Regions from separate parts of the Homo sapiens genome. Here all the other regions are linked to region 5. Evidence: promoter capture Hi-C in 16 types of primary human blood cells and fetal thymus (Javierre and others, 2016). All regions are on one chromosome and are shown on one strand. The core of a region is centred on a gene start or on the middle of the fragment in contact, and the rest is flanking DNA. Distances in the headings are between cores, read along the strand shown. Region 1 overlaps CMC1 (C-X9-C motif containing 1). Region 2 overlaps CMC1 (C-X9-C motif containing 1). Region 3 overlaps UBE2E2 (ubiquitin conjugating enzyme E2 E2). Region 4 overlaps AZI2 (5-azacytidine induced 2). Region 5 holds the start of OXSM (3-oxoacyl-ACP synthase, mitochondrial).

What was found. The method cuts DNA at HindIII sites, captures the fragments that hold promoters and counts their contacts. A CHiCAGO score of 5 or more calls a contact.
Region 1: a fragment that was not itself captured here is called in contact with the fragment with the promoter of OXSM in region 5 in 9 of 17 cell types (non-activated CD4 T cells, activated CD4 T cells, fetal thymus and 6 more); the score reaches 12.8 in non-activated CD4 T cells.
Region 2: a fragment that was not itself captured here is called in contact with the fragment with the promoter of OXSM in region 5 in 2 of 17 cell types (naive CD8 T cells and monocytes); the score reaches 5.8 in naive CD8 T cells.
Region 3: a contact is called between a fragment that was not itself captured here and the fragment with the promoter of OXSM in region 5, in 8 of 17 cell types (naive CD8 T cells, fetal thymus, total B cells and 5 more). The highest score is 15.4, in naive CD8 T cells.
Region 4: a contact is called between a fragment that was not itself captured here and the fragment with the promoter of OXSM in region 5, in 11 of 17 cell types (non-activated CD4 T cells, activated CD4 T cells, total B cells and 8 more). The highest score is 18.4, in non-activated CD4 T cells.

Annotation. Positions count from the first base shown.
Region 1 is chr3:28,243,093-28,247,684 of GRCh38, forward strand. The region is part of intron 1 of CMC1 (C-X9-C motif containing 1); the gene reads left to right. Among named protein-coding and RNA genes, the nearest start is that of CMC1, 3.8 kb to the left of the region's middle. The HindIII fragment of the contact is 1,233 bases long and covers 673-1,905 here.
Region 2 is chr3:28,318,547-28,323,141 of GRCh38, forward strand. CMC1 (C-X9-C motif containing 1) reads left to right here. Exons shown (of 4, transcript NM_182523.2): 4 at 963-4,595. The coding sequence ends at 1,083. AZI2 (5-azacytidine induced 2) reads right to left here. Exons shown (of 8, transcript NM_022461.5): 8 at 2,501-4,595. Among named protein-coding and RNA genes, the nearest start is that of ZCWPW2, 28 kb to the right of the region's middle. The HindIII fragment of the contact is 2,477 bases long and covers 1,064-3,540 here.
Region 3 is chr3:23,203,737-23,207,910 of GRCh38, forward strand. All of the region lies in intron 1 of UBE2E2 (ubiquitin conjugating enzyme E2 E2), which reads left to right. Among named protein-coding and RNA genes, the nearest start is that of UBE2E2, 2.5 kb to the left of the region's middle. The HindIII fragment of the contact is 223 bases long and covers 1,140-1,362 here.
Region 4 is chr3:28,343,537-28,348,076 of GRCh38, forward strand. The region is part of intron 1 of AZI2 (5-azacytidine induced 2); the gene reads right to left. Among named protein-coding and RNA genes, the nearest start is that of ZCWPW2, 2.9 kb to the right of the region's middle. The HindIII fragment of the contact is 728 bases long and covers 1,390-2,117 here.
Region 5 is chr3:25,786,963-25,791,364 of GRCh38, forward strand. It overlaps OXSM (3-oxoacyl-ACP synthase, mitochondrial), which reads left to right and starts at 3,128. Exons shown (of 3, transcript NM_017897.3): 1 at 3,128-3,185; 2 at 4,028-4,402. The coding sequence starts at 4,059. It also overlaps a transcript of NGLY1 not described here. RefSeq lists enhancers at 2,607-3,136, 3,276-3,345, 3,356-3,425 and a silencer at 2,954-3,173. The HindIII fragment of the contact is 1,038 bases long and covers 2,462-3,499 here.

The sequences.
Region 1 (4,592 bases), core at 39-2,538, 2.5 Mb after region 5:
TCGCCCAGGCTGGAGTGCAGTGGCGCTATCTCGGCTCACTGTAGCCTCCGCCTACTGGGTTCAAGCAATTCTCCCACCGCAGCCTCCTGAGTAGCTGGGATTACGGGCGCCCGCCACCACGGCCGGCTAATTTTTGTATTTTTAGTAGAGATGAGGTTTCGCCGTGTTCGCCATGCTGGTCTGGAACTCCTGACCTCAAGTGATCTGCCTGACTTGGCCTCCCAAAGTGCTGGGATTACAGGTGTGAGCCACCGCACCCAGCCTAATTATGGTACTTCTGAACTTGAAGTGACCTTTAAAGTAATCTCATACGGATGAGGAGACTGAGAATGAGAGAGGTTAAAGATTTCCATATATCTACACTTTTTGAATTTAGACAAGGAAATTTGGGAAAAAAGTCTTCATACTTGCTCTCTTCACTTGCTTACCTTCCAGTTACTCATAAGCCACTCCAATCTTGTGTTGTACCCAAGGCCACACAGCTAGTTGCTGGTAGAGTCAAGTCTGGTTAGAACCTAGGTAATTTCATTTCCAGTCCAGTGCTGTAGACCATGCCACCTTTTGAGTATTGATTAAACAAAGACTTGTTGAGTGTCTGGTATATGTCCCATATTGTTCTGGACCCTAGGGAACAGTAGTACATAGGACAAACAAAATTCCTGCTCCCAATAAAGCTTATCTAGTGGTAGAAAAAACAATTAACACCCCCTTTTCCCCCTACACAGACACGTGCGTGGGCACACACACATACACACACACATTTTTACAGATTGTGATAAACATGAAGAAAATAATGTCATGTGGTAGATGGTGAAGAGATTAGTCAGTGAAGAGCTTTATGAGGAAGTGTCATTTGAATTGGAATCTGAGGGATGAGAGGAAGCTAGGCAGAGTGTGCTTGGCCATCAGGTAGCAAATACTTAAAATATTTAACTTGAACGTGGGTCAGAGTGTGGAGGGGATCCATAAGGAAAGATATTGGGAAAGTAGGTAGTCACTAAATGCCTAGATATTGCAGAGGCTGCAAGTCCTCAAAGGCTGGCTGTGATAATAAAGCATTTGGATTTTTTCTAATGGCATCAAATGCCTTTAGAATCTTTTAAAGAGGGCAGTAACATAATTTATGTGTTTATTATCCTCGCTACAGTGGTAGCATGCATTGTAGAGGGGTCAGGTCATAAGTGGAAGAAGGGAGACAGGTTAAGGGATAGGAGCAGTAGTCCAGGCCAAATATGTTTGTATCTTAGCCCAAGATGGTAATAGACAGATGGAAAGAAATATACAGCGTCATGAGGAGAAATTGACAGGACCTGTGGTTGCATTGAATAAGGATGGTGAGAGAAAGGGAGGAAACAGTGGGCACCGTGGCTCATGCCCTTAATCCCAGTGCTTTGGGAGGCCGAGGCAGGCAGATCGCATGAGCTCAGGAGTTTGAGACCACCCTGGGCAACATGGTGAAAATCCATCTCTACTAAAATACAAAAAATTTAGCCAGGCATGGTGGCACACGCCTGTAGTCCCAGCTACTCAGGAGGCTGAGGAATGAGAATTTGAGCCTGGAAGGCAGCGGTTGCAGTGAGCCGAGGTTGCGCCACTGCACTCCAGCTTGGGCCACAGAGTGAGACTTCGTCTCAAAAAAAAAAAAAAGAGGAAATAGGGATAATTCCAGTTTTTGTACGTCAGCAGCTGGGTGGAAGGTCATGGTCAAATCTAACAATGTGATTATTGGAAACTTCATCAAAGGAAGGAATGGAAGCAATGGAGAGTAAAAAAGTGGAGTCAGCAAGTAGGAAGGTTTTTTTTTTTTTCCCTAAATTGTTTTGTCTGTTTAAATTCCAGAATAAAATGTATGGAAGCCAGTTTTTTTTTTTTTTTAATTTCGTGTTTATTTGGTTCATACGTTGAAGCTTAGTTTCACATTTTGATGTTTTACTGCTTTGTACAGCCCACGATGGTATTTGCCCATATTGAGTAAGTGAATAATAGATACACCAATTGAGGTTCATTTAGCAAAATCTGTTTTCCTATTGGTTTATTTTGTATTTTCTGTGATCTTTATAGAAGCTTGATTTTCATTTGGCAGCAACTTTTAATTAACTTTGTAGGGTCTCTGTTTTCCTCAAGAAACTGTGAACCCAGCGAAAAAATGCAGGTTACATGCTTATACATAGTTTTATTTACATTATTTTCCTTTTTTTTGTTAATGTAGCAGTAATAACAGCAATCTTTGCTTATTGCCATGTTCCGGACAAATTTTCAGACATGATTATATTCTCAGATGATGGCCCATAGGAACCTGCACCTGATAAATTTGATTTTTCACTTTCTCTATCAACTAAAGTAATTCCTTTCTCCCTTCTTTGACCTTTCCCCTTTTTAGTTAGGTTCTCTTCCCTCTGTCAACATAGATTCATTCTCTACTTATGCAGAATGGGGCATGGCAGCCTAAGGGAAGTTTCCTTAATCAGGTGTGTGTGTGTCCCTGTGTCCTTCTATTGCTGTTTTTTTCCGGGAACTTAATAAAAGGAGGAAGATGGGACAGAGATAGGGCTTAGGGGGTGGAAAGTGGGTTCAAGAATTTCATGACATTCCATGAGAAGGTGTTTAAGGTATATGTGTCTTGGGAAGATTTAATTATGGATGTTCTTGGAACATTTGGGTTGCAGTACTCCAAGTTGGGGTTCTTTCAGTGGTTCCTGTGGGAATGTAGGTAAATTACCTTTAGGGGTACAGGAACAGTACTAGCCCTTACATTTACTAGAAAATTTTAAGTTAGACATGTAAACAAACTTGAAGAATCTTTTTTGAGCATTGTATGTTTAATATGTAAAAGGTTGTGGAGTTGATTAGAAAAATTTTTTATTTTTTTTAGTGATGGGGTTTCACCATGTCGCTTAGGCTGCACTTGAACTCCTTGCTCAGGAGCACTTGAACTCCTGGGCTCAAGTAATCTGCCCACCTCGGCCTCCCAAAGTGCTGGGATTATAGGCATAAGCCACCCTGCCTGGCCTATAAGAAAAATTTTGATTTTATTATTGCCGCCATATCTCTAGAGTATCTTCTTAGACATAAATTACGTTGGTGGCTCAGAACAAAAAAAAAAAGACCTAACATCTACATTTTGTATATTTATAAATTAAAAGCATATTTGCCATAGAAAATACATTATTTTTGTCTCATCGGATTAACAACTCTCTGATGGTTGCTCTGTGAAATTTGAAAAACACAGGCTTAAGCAAAGACAATAAGAAAGAAGAATTGAGATCAAAGAGGAGTATGTGCCATGGCAGTGGGTTGGGGGTTGGGATTTCAGTTTTGAAGCATGAAATGATCTGTAAACCATTTCAAGGATTTTGAATTTTATACTAAGAACAATGGGAAGACACTGCAAGTTTTTAGGTAACGGAGTGACAAACAGAACTCTCCTTATTTTGTGTTGATCTGACTTTTGTTTAGATCAAGAATAACCTTGATCTCAGCCACATACTGCATACATGATGTGTCTTTCCAGAGTATCCCATCTGGAGGTACATGGGTATCTGTCTCTCGTAGGTGATGTTAATTTTGATTACCCACTCAAGGTTTTGCCCTGTTTTGTTGCCGTATTTTCTCTGTTTTGCAATTAGTAACTAATCTGTGGGAAGGTTAAGACCTTGTAAATATTTGCTTCTCATCAAATATTTCTCTTTGATTTGGGGTCCATTGATTTTTTTTTTTTTTTTTTTTACCTGATTCAGTCTTTCCCATAATGGTTGCAAAATAATGATTTTCTACCTCCAGCACACTCCCTTCACATTTACTAGATGGTTGTTGACATTTTACTGTAAGCAAGAGATTGCTTTGTTTCATTTTCATTGATTTATGAATTTATTATTGGTATTTTTGGTAAGGACTCATGAACTGCTGTATTTTCAATCGTTTGTACTCTGTTAATGTACATAAGTATTTTTTGTGTTCAAATTTCCCCAGATTTGGCCAGAGTTCCCTTTAAGCTAGCTTCTGGATCTTTGTCATATACTCTCACCATTTTTTTGAGCATTTCCTTTTTATTCCCTCACACAAGGTATCACTGCTTCATCTTGTACCTACCCTGGCCAATCCATACAATTAGTTATTTCTCTGAGAAGCCCTGGTTCCTTTTATTTGGGCACAGTATTAGAGAGTAAGAGCTGGTCACTAGAACTGCATGTAATTTGGGTGGTTTATTAATAGATTGCCTTTAGGAAAAGAAAAAAAAAACCCTTAAGAGAGTAAGGAAAATAGGAGACGGGAGGGGAAAAATCTGAGCAAGGATGTGGTTTCAGGTCTTAACCTAATCAGCTCTGGTGTACCACATGGTACATACAGTTTATTGTGCCTTGGAGGCAAGGGAGCTGGGCTTTCATGCCCTTTTTCAGTCATTGGTTACTGTAGTAGTTGGGAGAGGGACAGCAGCAAGGAAAACAGCAAAGGGCTACCATGGCCAGGGGCAGTCCTGAGAAGGTTGCAGATGTGAATGCTCCAACATTCTCTGCTGCAGGAGGGATACCAGCTCTATCCTAAAAATAATTTATCTGAATCTGTTAGGAATCTTAGTTGGATAGTAAGAGTTT
Region 2 (4,595 bases), core at 1,052-3,551, 2.5 Mb after region 5:
AGTAACATTTGTTTCTTTGTTCAAGTCCAAAAATGAACTGGGCTCCTTTTGCTCGTCCTACAACGTGTCTTTGTGAATTATACAGTAGTCTAGTATCTACAGTCTTGTCTCCTAACTCTAATTGGTTATTTCCTATTGATTTCTGAAATTTCCTGCACATCATCTCTTCCTTTTCATTCCTACAGCTCCTCCTTTGGCCTGCGCCTTCCATCATTTTTGCCTGGATTATTTTAACAGTTTATTGGCTATCTTGCCTCTAACCTTGCTTGCCTCCTTTTGTCCTATCTGCCACATGTTGTCAGATTCATCCAAGACACAAAACTGATCTTACAGGTGAGGTGCTCTATTAATTGTGCCCCATTTTCTTCAGGATTGATTTTAATTTCTGAGTATAGCATAAATGGCACATCATGATTTGACTTTTGCCCATTCCATCTTCATTTCAGGCCTTTTCTCCTATGTGCATAATCTGCTATAGTGGTACCTATCTACTTGGCAGGTTTTCCTGCATTAATTTTTCCTCATCCATGTGTCTTCCCACACTTGCCTTCTATATGGATTTCTGTTGGTCTTTCAAAATACAACGCAAGCATTTCCCCTTGAAACCTCTGCCCTCCCCATTTCTTCCTTGTTTCCATGGTGCACTGGGCCATACCTCTGTCACAGTATTTTGTAGATTTAATTTTAATCCAGTCTTTACTTGTCCTTTACACCGTGGGTTCCCAGGACAGGAGCTGTGCTTCTCATTGCTCTATTCTGTGACAGTGCTATATAAAAATGAATGATTTGGTCTTTAGTTTGGTAGCATAAAGTTAACAGTGAATTTTTAACCATTACTAAAAGTGTACTTCTAAAGATTGAGCCTGATGAACCAGATGTCTGAATATTAGTAATTAAAGTAAGCTTACATTTAACACATGCAGGATTATTTACTTGAAAATATTTTCATTTCCTTCTCATAGCTATAATGATCCAGCCTTTTATGAAGAATGCAAAATGGAATACCTGAAGGAAAGGGAAGAATTCAGAAAAACTGGAATTCCTACAAAGAAAAGGCTACAGAAGCTTCCAACAAGCATGTAGGCAGATACTCAAATGACATTCAGGAACTCTAATATTCATGGAAGTCATTTTATAGTCCTTAAATAATGGACTCAAGCATATATGTTTGCTTTACCTTAATTATGGAAATATTAACTTTATCTGAAATAAATATTTTATTTCAAAGTTTTGGTTTCTTAAATGGGAAAGGAGTAGTTACTGAATTGGGATATGGTTTTCCTGGTCATTCTGGACCTTTTGAAAGTTTTCCCACAACTATAGTTCTATAACAGTGATACTGATTTTTTAGAGTTCAATATGGTCCTTATATTATTTTTTTCCAGTGTATATGCTAATGGCTAATCATGGGAGCCAAAACTAAAGAAAAGCAGGAATGGACAACCTTCAAAGGTGTTAATAATAACTAGGCAGTATAGCAGAATGGCTATGAACCAGAATCCTTCCTGATTCTACCACTTATTAGCTATACAGCTGTGGAAGTAAATCTAATACAGTTTGTGAGGATGTACTGAGTATTGCATATAGCAGGTACACGTACAGTGTATAAGACAGTGCTTCAGACCTGGTACATGCTCTTATATTGGTAGTTACTGTTAGTAGTAGTAGAGGCTTATTTGGAAACTATCTTAGTCCATTTTCTGTTGCTATGGGAGAATACCCAAGACCAGGTAATTTATAAGAAAAGTTTGTTTGGCTCACAGTTCTGGAGTTTATTTGCCAGCAGCTTCTGGCAAGGGTTTTCATACTGCATCAAAACATAATAGGGTGTAAAAAATAGAAGGACAAACAAGTGTGGGCAAACTTTTATAACAGCCCGCTCTCTTGAGAACTAATACCTGTAATAATGGCATAAATCCATTCACGAGGGCTCCAGCCTCATCACCCTATTACCTCTTAAAGGCTCCATTTCTTAGTCCTGTTAAATTAGCAACTAAGTTTCCAACACATGAACTCTTGGGGGACACATCAAACCATAGCAGAACCATAGATAAGGAGATACCTACTTATATGAATTAATTTTACTTACATCTTTGATGTAGAATTTTCTAAAACATAATGTTCTTAACCTGATAACTTGTTAGTCCTTTAATCTTTCATTTTGAAAAGTTATATTTCTAAGTGAATTACCATTCTGTAACATAGTAATGGACTCAGGAAGTAGTATAAAAAATTTATGTCCCAATTTAATAATTTGAGCTTTTATATTAAAAGTTATTTTTTCCCCATGAGCTGTTAACTCTTCCACAGCCATTGTAACTAGTTTCAAGATAAGTAAATTTTACGTATATTTTCACAGTCCTCATTAAAATCACAAATAGAAATTACTACCCACTAAGACAAGGTTTAACTTTCCCTAATCCCATGCAATAGATCTGAGAGATTTTTTTTTAAGAAAGAATTTAAATAGGACACTAAAGAATCAATTCAAGTTCCACACTTTACTCTTGAGTGAACCACTCAAAAAACTATTTTACTTTTATTTGAAATACAAAGAAACCACATTTTCCCAGGCCACAGATCAAAAGGAGGGAGATTACTAGAGCAGACAAAAGCAAAGCAAATATAGAAATCTAGAGACCACACAGCATAGGGGCAAACATGCCCATATTTCCACATTGACCTTTGGTATTGGTGCATTTCCTAGAGCACAGGAAGTTAACTGTTTTTAGAGATAAATGAAAATGGAAGAGTTACTTTAAGAAGCTAGTGAAATATACAATCTATTTTATAGCTTTGATTAAAATCAGAAGTAGCCCACTTCATGTAGAAAATTCACTTATGTACATGTTGCTTTCCCCATAGAAGCCAGATTAGATTACACAGTATAAATAATATGTTCATCCTCCTTATGTCAAAGACTAAACCATTCATTGTAGCCTTCAGAATACCCATGTGTATCCATACTGAAGATTTTTTTCACCTGGTACATCTGTCTCAGTTGTGTCTTGCTTGCTTATGGGTGCCTCTGTTGATATTATTCCCTGTTAATATGTGGTAACCCACAGGTTTTTTACCCCTTAAGATACACCTTCTCCAAGTAGCCTTTCTGAATTAAGATCAGTACTTTGTTGTCACATGATTCAGCTCTTCAAGTCTGAATTTTCCCATTTATTTTGGTTTTCTAATGTTTCACATAGGCATGTTCCTGCTTTTAAGAATTCAGTTCCATTTTGGCAGCAACTCAGTAAGTCTTACAGATGTAAATTTTACTTTAGCTAATAAGGGAGCAAGAGGAAGGAATAGGTGGCTTTTTGTTATGTTTTCTTCATTCTGTCGATTTATGGATGTACTGAATTGAACCTTATAAAAAGAAATCTAAAGATTCCAAAGGAAGCTCTTTAGAGCAAGTTTCAGCTAGTATGAAAGAAGTCAACATAAAATATTCAATTTTAAATAGATTCATAAGCTACAGATGGGCCACTGTTTTTTGGTTGTTTGAATTTTACCTAGAACAGAGATATCAAGTGTAGATTTAAAAGCTTCTAGCTGGGTAAAAAATTTTTGGCTAATCTTTCCTTACTAAAGAACCTTATACATCATTTGTCTAACACTTTAAACTGTCACAGTCACTGACTTTTTAGTATACCTGTTTGATAGCTATCATCACTGTACTGTTTAAATGGAAAATAATTTTCTCCACTCAAAAGCTGGTTTAACAAATGTCTATTGTATGAATCATATTAACAACCAACAATTAGTACTAGATTTTGAGATCTATAGGCAAGGACAATATTTCACATCCACTTCAATTTCAAACAAAAATATTTATTTTAATTAAACAATTTCTTGGTATTGTTCAAAACATTAATCAAGCAATTATCTCATAAGACTTTTTTTCTTTACAAAGGAAAATTTCCAATTTTGGTTTTAAAAAAGGCAAACCAGTAAGCTACATTAGAGATCAGATATAATATACAGCCTATGCAGCCACATGAGAAATAGTTTTTGCTGCTTTGTTATTACACAGGTAGTTGCTTCCTTCAGCTAAAGCCTGGAGTATTGTATTTCTTTTATGCATATTGGGTTTGGTTCTATTACTTGGCAGGAGATTGTACTCCCCTGAGTCAGCTGTGTTCATTGGTCAGAATAAATTCCAGCATCTGACACCAATTCCATTAATCACAGACAAGCTTGAATAAGTGTAAGATAATAGAAAAAAATATCTAGTGAATGGCGAACATTGTCTATGTATGTATGCTATTCAGTAATACAGTAGAAGAGATCTGAGATATTGAGTTCAAGATATATGAAACTGTCTATCAAAAAGGATAAAAGTCCTCCTACATGAAATACTTTAATTCAGGCAAAAGGTGTATGAACCAAGTAAATCTCCACCCTGAAAGAACTTAAATTTCCATGTGAAGCCATCTTTATTTCCTTCTTTATTTCCAAATAATTGGCCACTTAGAATAAGTGTGGACATTTCATGATCGACAATATCAATACAGCCCAAACCCTGATTTCTATGATTAAAAATAATAATTTTAAATCACTTTCTCAATAAATAGAATATTACATTTCAACACAAAGTC
Region 3 (4,174 bases), core at 1-2,500, 2.6 Mb before region 5:
GTTCTCAGTTCCCCATCCTTCTCAACCCTCCCAGCGCTTTCCTTCTCCTAGCCGCATCCTGGAACTAAGTCTTTTCAAAAGTACAGGATAAATGTCACGGTGGAAAGTGCCCGGCTTGATCTTTTGCTATTTTCCCTAATTGCATAATTGCTGCACATGGTGTGTCTCCTGGCGAGTGCCGGGTTTGGCTCCTTCGCCGCCGCACCCCGGTGGCCCGCCCGGAGAAGACCTTGTGGGGTATATTTGTGTGTGTCCTGGTGAGGGGTGTGTGTTGTATTGGTCTTTTGTGATGCCTGGCGCTTGTCACAGTTTGGAACCGAAGCCCATTTTTCTCTGGTCTCTTCTCTGCAGCCCCCACTGGCCTGGTTTGAAACTGGATTCCCTCTGTCCTCTCCCCCTTCCCGCCCACCCCACTTCTCCCCCTCTTTTCTCCGATCTCTCTCATAATGTTTTGATCTTTTTGCCCTTTACCATTTCTAATGAAGATAAAGCGTGGCTTCTTGTGGCTTTTTTCCCCCACGACCAACCAGAAATGTCCAATCCATCTTCCCTTAAGGAAATTAAGGCTGCTTTAGAAAGACATCATCCTGTGCTCGGTGGCTGTTAGACCCATTTGCATGTTTTCAAGATTCATCGTTTTGTATTGTGTATTCTTGAGAGTCTACTAAAATATTTTTATTTAAAAGTACGAAAGGAAGTGCTAGGGTTTACCCTCAAAGTATCTCGCGGTTCTAAAGGATTTTACGCTCTTCTTAGTTTTTAATCCCTGATTTCTTTAAAAAGTATGTTTCTAGATATGTGATAATTCAGTCTGGACTTTGTGAATCTAAATATTTGCCTTTACTACGGCAATTTGGATGCTCCTTGGCTCTTTGGAATTCTGTATGTGGGCTGACGCTGAAATAGAGTGTTTTCATATAATGCCATACCCCATTCTCTTTCCCCTGCAGCACCTTTTACCCCCAAATCAGGTGTTCCACTGTTATTTTCTGCATAAATGTCTTTGCAGTTAAATTTAAAGCTGGATATTGCTGTGTGCATATACTATATATTTATTTTACATTTTAGAAAAGTTTAGAAACATGAGTAGGAAGACAGCAAGACATATATGACAGAATTAAACGCTTTCCTGTTATAAAAGCTTAAATGAACACTTGGTTTTGCAGTTTTATACTAGTAGATACTGTTATAAGGCTTACCTGGGTAGTAGGCTGGATTTATGGAATGACTATAGTTGCCTTTATGTAGTCAGTAATATTTCAAGCCAAATCATTTCATTTTTATGGAACATGTGAGTTTCATTCACTGTATGTTGCTAATTTCCAGGACTGTAATTACAACATAGGGTACATAGCTAATACAAGCTTAGACAGTTTGTGTTGAAGAAGTAACAATATGTAAGCCTCTTAATATAGTTTTAGGAAGGACTACTTATTTTATGGTTAAAAATTAAATTTTACTTTGAGTTATGAAGTAAGCGTATTTATCTCTCTCAATATCTTTGAAAGTATCATTGGAGAGTAGCTGTTTGTTTATAACCCTGGGATTTAAGTTTATCTTCCCTGTAGATGAGATAATCGGATCAGATTAGCTATTTAGGAATTAATTTTAAAATGCTAATTTAGAAGATAATGTTTAAAGGATTTTAATTCAGGAATTTTTATTCATTTGTACTTCAGAGAGACAAGACATCAAGTTTACACTTACGACTAATTAAATTGATTCATAGACTACTTTTTCTTCATAAAAATTCGTTGCACCTGAGTGGTACAATAATTTTTTTCTATACTTTTTCTGTAATCAAGCATTCAAAAAACAAACCCAGGAGAAATTCCTTTTATTATTGATATTTGAAAAAGAGATGTGAAAACTTTATTTCTAAAAGTTCCTATAGTGGTTATCAATGGCCTCAGATGGACTTATCATTTGTAGGTTAACATTTGGATGAAATATGTCTTAACTCAAAAGTGGGAATAATTCTTTTCCTTAATGTGAAACCAGAAATTACACCTCTGTTGGGGAATTTCTAATAGTATTTTTATTAGTTCTCTGGTGAGACTAATTTTTATTTTAATCTTCCTCTAATATTCGGCAGTAGAAATTTGAGTTTCAGATTATGGCTCAGATCACATCATTGAGTAATCTTTTTAAGTAATTATATAACTATGGCATTCGATAGTATGTAAATGCACATAAATAAGAATATTGAGAAGAATGTGTGGCTTTATAACTAATGTTATACACAACTGAAACTCTCAGCATAGTTTATTAAATCATAGTTTATTACGCTGAAGCTGCATCCTCAGTATAGAGAATATTATTTCATTGAGGTACCCATATATTTGTCATGGAATGGATTGCTCCTGTTTTAAAATGTATAAAATGATTTCTCACTCATTTCACATTTCTTAAGGTATTGCTGGCAGCATTTTGCTATATCTGAGCACCTTTCCCTGAGGATTGTTCTCTTTTTCACTCTCATGCATGCCGCCCTATCTGATATGCCATTATGTACATACTTACAAGATTTTAAACTTCTGATATATTTTAACTGAAAGAAGGTGAAAAAAAATATTAAATCCAAGAATGAGAATTTAGAGTGAAATAAAAATGAAAAAAAGCAAGAAATATGTTACGACTTTTAGAGCTAGATGTGAAACATACTGATATAAAATTTCAGTGTTCTATTAAGTGACTTTAGTGCTCATAAAAGATGTCACAGCTGTGGAGACTGGTGCTCTTCATTTACAGAATAGGTAGAAAAGTAGTCAGCTTTTCCGTTAGTATGTTTCAGAGCTGTTGGGGCAGATCTGTTTCTGTTTGGCATGGGGAGCTGTTGGGGTTGAAGGGGTGCTGGTGGTGGTGTGTGTGGTGTGTCAGTGAAAGGATTCACTATTTTCTGTTGACTCTTTGTGGCTCTGTGCTTCCTGATGCTTCCATTCTTTTGCAGTGCTTTTTGGTTTGTCTTACAAAAATTTCAGTCCATTAAAGATCGGTGTTACAACATTGCTTTGGCTTAGAGCAAGCTACAAGTTAAATCTTTAGTGATGATGAATTTTCATCAGTGTCAAATAGCTATCCATTTGGACTAAGTTATAGTAATTAAAAAATTTTGCTTTATTTGAGGTATCTTTACCTGTTCTTATTCTTGATCATATCAGAAACAGTTTTATTTCAAGTTGTAATTTGATTAAGAGTAATCAAAAGGATCCATTTCAAAAGGAATTTGTTCAGTGTACCTATAATTTTTAAAGATATATTTTTTGCTGTTAATGGTACTTATTAAGTATAGGTATTTTGTTTTTAAAAAGGTGTCTGAGAAGATAGCTATACAGTGCTGAAAGTGATTATTAGGTGACAAAACCATGGGGAGCACAAGGCCTTTTAGAGTCTGGGCATGAGTTTTGTTGGTTCAGTTCTGGATTTGTCAGAACACTTTAAGCTAGTCAGCTCATAAGGGATGTATTCATAGTCATCAAACTCAGAAATTGATTATGATAGAATGACAGTTGAGGAGAGATACTCCTTTTCACTTACTGGAATTGTTTGTGTCTGCTGTCTAGATTATAACAGCTACCTAAATATCAAGGTATTGAGGAAATTGAGTTGGTAATCAGAACTGCTTGGGGGGCCTGAACTCAGAGCAAAGGGAATTTGAAAGCCTTGAGGGATATTTTAGCCAGAATGTGGGGAAAAAAAAAAAAATCTTCAGTGTCTTCATCTCTTGTGAAATATGGTTGCTTTAGTATATAGCTGAATGCTGTCATATGGTTCAATTTTTATTTAGAATCATGCAGTCATGCAGGCCTCTGTGTTCTTCTGTTATCACAAAGGTTACTTAAAACCACTTACTAGTTTGGAGAATTTTAACCTTAGCCCAGCCCTGAGGATGTATTGATTGAATAGGGATTTGAAAGTGTCGTCCCATTTTTGTGTTCCCACAAGTATTTGTACTAACCTTCGTTTTTGTACTTAGCAAGTTGGCTAGTCGAGGTTTTTCACAGTTGTGGGACCAAAGGGCTTAGCACAGCGCCTGGTAGAGAGTAGACCCTTAATCATTTTTGTCTTATTTTCTGTAACAGCATTATTGATATATAATTCACATACTATAAAATTTACCCTTTAAAAATGTACAACTCTGTAGTTCTTAGAATATTTATTATTAGAATTGTGC
Region 4 (4,540 bases), core at 504-3,003, 2.6 Mb after region 5:
TTTTTTTTTTTAATTCACAACCAGTGAACTACTTAGCATTATGCTAAATGTTTACAAACATTATCCCATTTAATTCTCAAGACTACCCTATGAGGTACAAAATCTTATCAAACTCATCTCACAGATGAGAAAACTGGGACCTGGAAAGGTAAAGAAGCTTAGCTAGGATCACTTAATTAGTATGAACCAGGACTTGGATTTTAGAGCCTGAGCTATTAATATTTTCCCCTCTCCAATGAATCTTTTACAAAATCTTACACTCCTACAAATCTAGGAACCCCTCAGAAGGCTTACAAAAGTACTTTACATGGAAGGGGGTATATTGATACAATAATGTCACATTTTATACAACATGATAGCTAGTCATTTTTAAGACAATATGAGTAGTCAGACTGGTTTACCTATTGATATGCTACCTTTTTATTTATAAATCAAAAGTTGCATATATTATGTAAGAAAACAATGGCATAAAAGGATTTTTCAAGTTTTATACCATTATTCTATATATTTATTCTATACACTATAAACATTACTTAGAATACGCGGAAAAGCAGCATCAAATTGCTTATCTGTCCTAAAAGTTATGTAAGAAATAGCCATATATTAAAACACACAATGTGCTAGCACCACATATATGTATCAACTTTTATTGTTTTAAAATAACTGTCATTTAAATTTGTTATAAAATGGAAAATTAAAATTTTAATTACTATCCCTGCAAAAATTAATATGAAATCACAAGCATGAGAATATTAATACTTATCATATTAGTCTGTACAAACCAGACTTCTGGAGAGTAAAAGCTACAGGTCCAGGGAAAATGAGATCATAGAAAGGAAACAATACAAGGCAGATATCCCATTATATTTATTAATATAATGAAAGGAAAACTGTTAGCAAAGTAAAAAGTAGGCTATGTGTTGCCTTTGGTGTTATTGCTACGCAAGCATCCTTTATAAAATGTATTTCTACAGAGAAGTAAAGGGAGCTGTGGTAATCAGTCTCATAATAAAGATTCAGTTTTAAACACTTTTGTTGCAATGAAATGGCTGTGTGTGTGTATCCAAATCAGCTGGCCCATGAAGTCTGATTTTCTAGATAAATGGTAAAAGTGTAACTGGCTATTATTCTATTTGACAAACTAGACCAAGCTAGTTATATCATTTAACATTTGAAGAAACTTAACATTATACTGAGTCTTATTTATCATAATTTAAATGCTCTTAAAATAATAAATCTTTGTTAGCATTAATCTTTAAAAAATAAGTGCCATGAGCAGAATATTGTTATCAAAAATTAAAATTACCAAAGACTAGATAGTATTTTAAATAGTCTAGCAGAAACTGAACTTTCAAAACTTAACAAACATCAAAACACTGTCCAAAGACAAGCTTAAGTGGACTTCTCTCAGTGATGAAAATCAGTAATAAATGTATTCCACAGGGACATTCCATAAATAAATTTTGCTTTTCCAAGGGCATTCTAAGAAGCTGGAGATGACTGAGGGCAGTGTTTGACAAAGGTGTGGACCACTGCCTTAGAATTCCTCTGCATTCTGTTAAAAAATACTGATTCCTAGCTTCCACTGCAGATCTATGCAAATCAGAATATCTGGGGTGAAAAACTGCAAAGTGCACTCTGAATAAGCACCCAGGTGATTTTAAGTCATATTCCAATTTGAGAACCACTCATCAGAAAGAACAAAGCCAAGCAGTTACCACGTAATTTACAGAATTCCAATTCTTAGTATCCTTGAACATTTGTGGGCACAGTTAGTTCTATGTTATGAATTAGTAAACACCCTTTAGATTTTATTTTTAATATTATAGAAAGTAATTTCACATTCATCATCTCATCACAATATAGTGGGGTGTTAAATAAAGCACATTTATAGGCAAATGTATCTATATGTACTCATGCAAACATTTTATATATTTGGCAATTAAATTTTGTTTCTCCTTAGAGGTTTACTTAAATATAAAAAGCGAATTAGAAAAGATTGAGGTAAACACTATTGACAATTATTTTTGAGAACAATGAAATTTCCAAGAATGATAAAAAAGAAAGGGCACAATTTGTCAGATAAAGTAGGTAGAAATAAGAACAGTACTACCTGAAGCTTGGGGAGAAACACAGGAAAAAAAAGATTCAAACATTATTTATTAGAATTATTTTAGAAGATCTTAAATTTCAGTCTTCATCATGGCAATCAACACCAAGAGAACTCTCAGTTGTTCATATGCTACGTATGTCAAAGTTTGGGATACTAGAAAACATATCTGCTGATATCAGACTGGTCTTTTTTCTAGGAATAAATATGATTATCCTGTCATATTTCATCATCTTTATATCTGCCATTTTCATATTTCATCATCTTTATATCTGCCATTTATTGATCACTTACCATATGCCAGTCACTAGTGCTTTCACATGCATTTTTCTACCACTTAGCTAAGTACTGTTATGAAGAAAGTCTTAGAAAAGTTAAATACCTTACCTATAGCTACACAGCTAATCAGTGGCAAAGGTGAGATGTGAACCTAAGTAAGCTGTCAGAAGTCTATGGTCTTAATACAACATTCAAAGAGGCAATACAAAAGGGATTCTGGTTATCCTAAGAATATGGACAAGGCATAACTATGTCAAAAAGAACACTTTCCCAGGATTCAGAAACACAGATTCTAGTCTAGGATTTGCAACCCTGATTATAGTTTAGTTCGCTTTACCTCTCTAGATCAAAATTTTCCCACCTATACAGAATGATAGGGTTAGACTACATCACTAAGATGCCACCTTACTAAACTGTGAAGGCAAAAGTTTAATACAAATACAGAACAATGGCAACCTAAACAGAGAGAAGGGAATTCACATTTATGCCAGGAACTGCATAAAAGGTATGGTACACACATTATCTCAAGTCCACACCAAACTTGGCAAGAAAGGTATTAGCACCATGATAAATGGGGAAATTGAGGCTCAAAGAGGTGAGGTAAATTCACCTCACCACAGCAGTATGTGACAAAACTGAAGTTTGAATCAAGGCCTATATGGTAGGCTCTTTATTCCATATTGCCTCCTGAAGTAAATCATATTTAGAATTTTCACCACCTTTCTACCTCTGAAAAGTTAGGATATTCCCGAACCTATTTCGTACAATCAGTCAAAATACTATGGAGCAAGGATTAAGTCTTACGAAGACGAACAGACCAATGCTTATTCCCCTTTCTCAATTTGTAAAATAGCCTAACTAGTTTATAAAGAAGGGTCATCAAGTACCTCTTTTCAAAACATCATCTCTTAATCTGTGTACATTAGCAATAAAAAGCCCTGTAATTCAATAAATGTCCAAAAATGTACTCAACATTAGATATACAATATGAAGAAAAACTCCAGTTCCATTTTTATGACTCTTGAGTTATCCAACAAACTGCGTTAGTCCAGAAATCAGTTTGTATTGCACAGATCAAGACTCTTCCAGAGTTAGCATAGGTATGAAGAGCAGTCTACTTCTTTTCATCCCTTTCATACAGTAATACCTCTAATGCAACTAAGCATCTACTATACATTCAATGTTACTGGTGTTATTGAAAATTATTTTCTAACAGTGATAAGGCAACTATACTTGCACTCTGAATATAAGTGCCATAAAAAAGAAAAAGATTGGTTCTATTACTTCATGGATTATAAAAAAAACTTCAGCATTTTACTTAATAATAATGACAAGGTTCTGCATTGGTAATTAATAGTAGCCAAGCGTTTATGGTATACCAAGCAGTGTGCTTCACCTTTTGGAGAAACTATCTCATTTGTTCTTCATAAGCATTCAGTAAATCTATGTAATACCTCTGAGGTTGTAAAGAATCTCCTCAGATTACAGGTGGAGAAATTGAGACATGAAAACATTAGAAAGTAGGGGAGCCAGAAATGAAAATCAGGCAGCTGACTCCAGAGCCAGCATAACTCTTAGAAACTATGCTTTGGTGCCTTAGAGTATGTATTACACCCATTTCAGAGATAAGGAAAATGAAGAAAAAGTTTAGCCTCTTACCCATTGTCAAGTAAATGGAAAAATCAGCATTCAGATACTGGTGTTCTGACCTAATCCAGTGTCATTTCCCATTATGTTATGCTGTCTCTTTAATATTAAAACCTTCTACTTGCGTAAGATGTCTGGCTTACAAACAATATCACATTAAAATTTGGAAATATCCTGTAAAGGATGCACTGTTCTCAATTTACAGATGATGAAATGATCACAAGATTGGGCAATGAGATATGGCGTTTTTAGAGAAATGAAATTCTGCCTTGAGATCTTGCTCAATCCAATTTGAAATTCCAATCTAAAAACCAAAATGTCTTCTACACATAAGGCGCAAGGGTCAATTTTAATTCTGGTACGTCTGTCTTTGATCACCTTAGCAAATTTCCATCACCTCTTGGAGCAACTGATGGTTTGATTTGTACTAGAGTTTTCGTGGGTATTTTATCTCGCTTTCGAGTATTGGGGTTTCTTTTGTGTAGAGGGTGTCAGCCTACCTTG
Region 5 (4,402 bases), core at 1,878-4,377:
GTATGGTCCCTACTTTCATAGAAGTCATAAGTTTAGAGCAGTGGTTGGACAAGCAACAGCAGCATCAGCAGGAAACTTGTCAGAAAAACAAATTCTGAAGCTCCACATTTAAAGGTGGGACCCAGCAATCTGTGTGGTAACAAGCCCTTCAGGTGATTTTGATTAACAGTAAACTTTGAGAACTACTAGTTTAGAGGGAGGAAAATTTCACTGTGGGCTGCAGTTTCAGTGAGGGGGGACAACTTGAACAGAAGCCTTAAATTGAGAGGTTGAGAAGGTGAGAAAGGAGAGGACTTGCTACCTGTGAGAGACTCCCCACCCTCCTTAAATCATGTACAATATCCTAGTAACGTTTCCTTCTCAACATCTCCTGGATCTCTCCTTGCCATTGCCTTCAGAGCCTCGTGTTTCATCCATTCTTAACTTTCTTCCCTGTGTCCATTTCCACATCCTTCCAACCCACCCTGCTCATTTGTGCAATAGTGATCTTTCTAAAGCACCCATCTGATCATGTTGTTCTCCTGGTAAAAAGTTTTCTATGGCTCCCTCTATCCACATTCTAAAGTCAAATGGTGTCAGGAACCAGGCTGGTAAGTTAAATATTTTAAGTGGCTTTGTTCAAGACAAAGAGGAGTAAGAGAGACTCCAGTGAAGGGAATGAGAGAGTTTACCATGTCCTTTCTAGAGGAGTTTAGAATCAATAAAAGAATGTTGCACTCCAAATTATACCATGAAGGCTAGCATATGGTCTCTGAACTACGGGATTAAATCCAAAGTCCTCAGTATGATACCCCAGGCTTTTGTGATCTGGGCCCTGCCTTACTCTCATGCGTTTACTGTTGCTTTGTCCCACACTTCAAATTTGACATGGGCCACATATTTAGCTGTTTGTGGAAGATACCATGACACTTCATTTCTCCAGGCCTTTGTTCTCCTCCTGCCAGGATGCCCTTTCCCACCCAATTTACTAGACAAACATTCATTTCCAAGATGCAGTTCAAGGATCATTTCTCTGAAGCCTTTTCTGACTTTACGAGGTAGCACAGACCTCATTGTCCCTTTTGTGTTATAATAATTCCACTATAGCACCTGTTTCAACAGTTTGCACTTACTTGTTTCTATGGGTGTCTCCCTTTACTAGACCATAAACTTCTTGAAAGCAAGAGCCATACCTCTACTCATTTTTGCATTCAAACTTCAAGCATTGATAGGAAGAAAATGAGTGGTTGTTGAAAATAGCAAAAGCACAGAGATGAGAAAAGTTAGGGTCAATCAAGACATGTATAGTGAGAAAATCAGTTTGCTGGGTGGCAAGCTCATTTAATAGAGAATGGGAGCCATAATTGGAAAGATAGTTTTGAATCAGATTACAAAGAATTTAAGGCAAACCTAGGAAGTCTTAATAGGAGGGTAGGATAAGCAGAGCCCATTTGAAGATTTTGGTGCAAGAAGACACGATGGAATTGTAGCAGGAAATATGGTACCAAATATGTAAAGCCATTAAATATCATAAAATTTCCCACCCTTTTCCAGATCAAAGAAAAGGTGATAAGAGGTAGATACAAAAATGATGGTCTTTTTATTTTTCTGAAAGATTTTGTCACCTCTTAGCCAAGACGATTTTGTGATATTACAAAAGAAATAGCACATTAAAACTGTATGTTTCTTATGAGTTCAGCTTCAGAGAAAATATTGTAGGTATTTTCACACTATTATTTTAAAGACAGCAATGAAAAGAGATCAAGTTTAGGTACTTACTCATCAAGTGTTACTTTATAACCACATGTGTTTGTTTTAATTCTTCAAGAAACTCTACTTTGTCACTGAATGAGGATCAACTAGAGGTGACTGGTTAGGCCTGGGACGAAGGTCAAACTGAGCTTTGCTGAATTATTTTAAACAAAATAGATTTCCAAACTCATTTAAATCCAGGACCAACCTGGAAAGCTAAGCTTGACTCACATTCTTCTGTAGGGGTAGGAAAGAATGCAGAGCACTCTACTTGGAAACAATGGCTTCAAGAGGCATTGCCCAGAAAAAACCATAAATATGACTAGAAGGTCCAGATGAAGATTCTATGCTCAACCATTTTTCTAAAGAAGAGCAAGGACAAAACTCACGCCTGGGATAGCATGTGAAAAACAGATGTTCGATGAATACCATCTTGTCGACTTCTTGCTTTTTTACATTTTCATGTTATATTTTCCCTTTATCGGTTTGCAGTCAGCTCTAAGCAAACAGTTAATGAATTTTTCACACTTAGAAACAAATGTCTCCATTGTGACAATGGAGACAATTTTTGAGCACTGTCTCAAATCTGGTGATAATTTTTTTTTAAGTGAAAGGAAGTTTATTAGGAAAGTAAAGGAACAAAGAATGACTACTCCATAGGCAGAACAGCCTGGTGACAACTTTTAAAAAGTAAAAACTTTATTACAAAAACATTTGTTTATTGTAGAAAAGCTTTATTAAATAAAGCTAAGCAAAAATAAGGAGGGAAAGATCACAATCAGTATACATCTTGCAGACCTTTAAAGAATTATTTTTGAAAAAACGGATATATACTGTTTTGTAACTATGTCTCCTAACAAATAGTCGCAACATCTCATTAATAAATATTCACCTGCAGAATTATTTTAAACGGCTGCATGGCATTTGGATGTACCACAAGATACACAACAAATTTCCTGATGTTGGCCATTTTGGTTAATTCCACTTTACTCACAATTACTAATAACGTTGCGAGCTATAGCAATAACTTTGAAACTGCAGAGAATTTCCTTAATTCTTTCTTACAATTCCAGTAGAATACGATGGTGTCCCTTCTCCGACAAAAGGGAATATTTGGGCATTATCACTGCCAAAGAAAAATGCCTTTTTGATGGGTGAAAATGCTACCTCATCGCGTTATTGGCAGGTCCTCGATTATCGGCGAGTCACTGAGGTTCCGAGAGGGGCGTCTCTGCTCACGCAAACAGCTACCCAGCCGCCTCCCACGGTCTGACCTCAGCCAAGGTGACGCGGCTTAAAGTCAACCGGCGGAAAGAGAGTCGAACGGGACGCGTGCGTGGGAAAGCGCATGAGCGTACGTGCGAGCGCGCATGAGCGTACGTGCGTGTGCGCGTGCGCTCGAGAGCGTCATCGCCCCCGACTGTGGAGAAGTGTCCGGGGTAGCCCCGTTACAGGTATCGCTGGCTACCCTCCTCCTTCGCCCCTCCTTTCCTCCTTTACATTCAAATCAAGTCGGGGTTGAATTTCGAGAGGGGAGTCCGAGGACCTGGGGCCTGATTTCTTTTTCTCTCGCCATGCTTCTTCGGGCTGTGTACATGTGTGGTGGTGCCTGAGAGGCGATACAGGGAATGGCTACACTCTTTTACTCCCGCCCCTGGCCTTCGTAGTACCCTTGAAGTGATCCACTAGTCGTAACCCCTCCTTCCACCAATGATTCAATTGGAGAAGTTTAGAGGAGTGGAAAGACTTGTCCCCTTCCCCCATCGCAAGCTTGGTCACAGAGTGTATTGCCAACCCATGTATCCAGACGCTCAGTCTAGGGCTCTTGGCCCTGGGTAGCGTTTTGAAAAGGCTGGTTATCCTTAAGTACTGAAGATTGATAAAGCCCACTTACTTACTTAAAAGAATATGCCCTGAAATGTGTTTTCTGTGCCACTGACACCAGAAATGCTATTTAGAAGAAGTTATCAGTAATCCTGACAAAGGATGCTTCCTGCAGCTCAAATCAGGCTGGAGGTGCCTTTATATTTTTCATTGAATTACTGTTTTGGTGACTCGAATGAATCATCAATTCATTTATTTGTCTTCAAATGTCTGACGGCACTTAAGGTCTAAAAAAGAAGGTAAGTTTAAACAGATAGTTTGATGTTAAGGTATAAATTGAAAGTATGTAACATTTTCCCTGTGTTCATTAGCAGCTCATATCAAGCACCCAAAGGAACACCTTGGATGTTTTTCCTTAGGCCCTTAAGCTATTTAAAAGAATACCTCCTAGGTGTGTTGTGGTCTTTTACAGGAATGTGTTTCTGATCATCTGAATCTTAATCATGTCCAACTGCCTGCAAAATTTCCTGAAAATTACAAGCACTCGTCTTCTATGTTCAAGATTATGCCAACAGTTAAGAAGTAAAAGGAAGTTTTTCGGAACTGTGCCAATATCCAGATTGCATAGGCGAGTTGTCATTACAGGCATTGGCTTAGTGACTCCTCTTGGTGTTGGAACTCACCTGGTTTGGGATCGTCTTATCGGAGGAGAGAGTGGAATTGTTTCACTGGTTGGTGAAGAGTATAAGAGTATCCCTTGCAGTGTTGCTGCTTATGTGCCAAGAGGTAGTGATGAAGGTCAGTTCAATGAACAAAACTTTGTGTCCAAATCAGATATCAAGTCCAT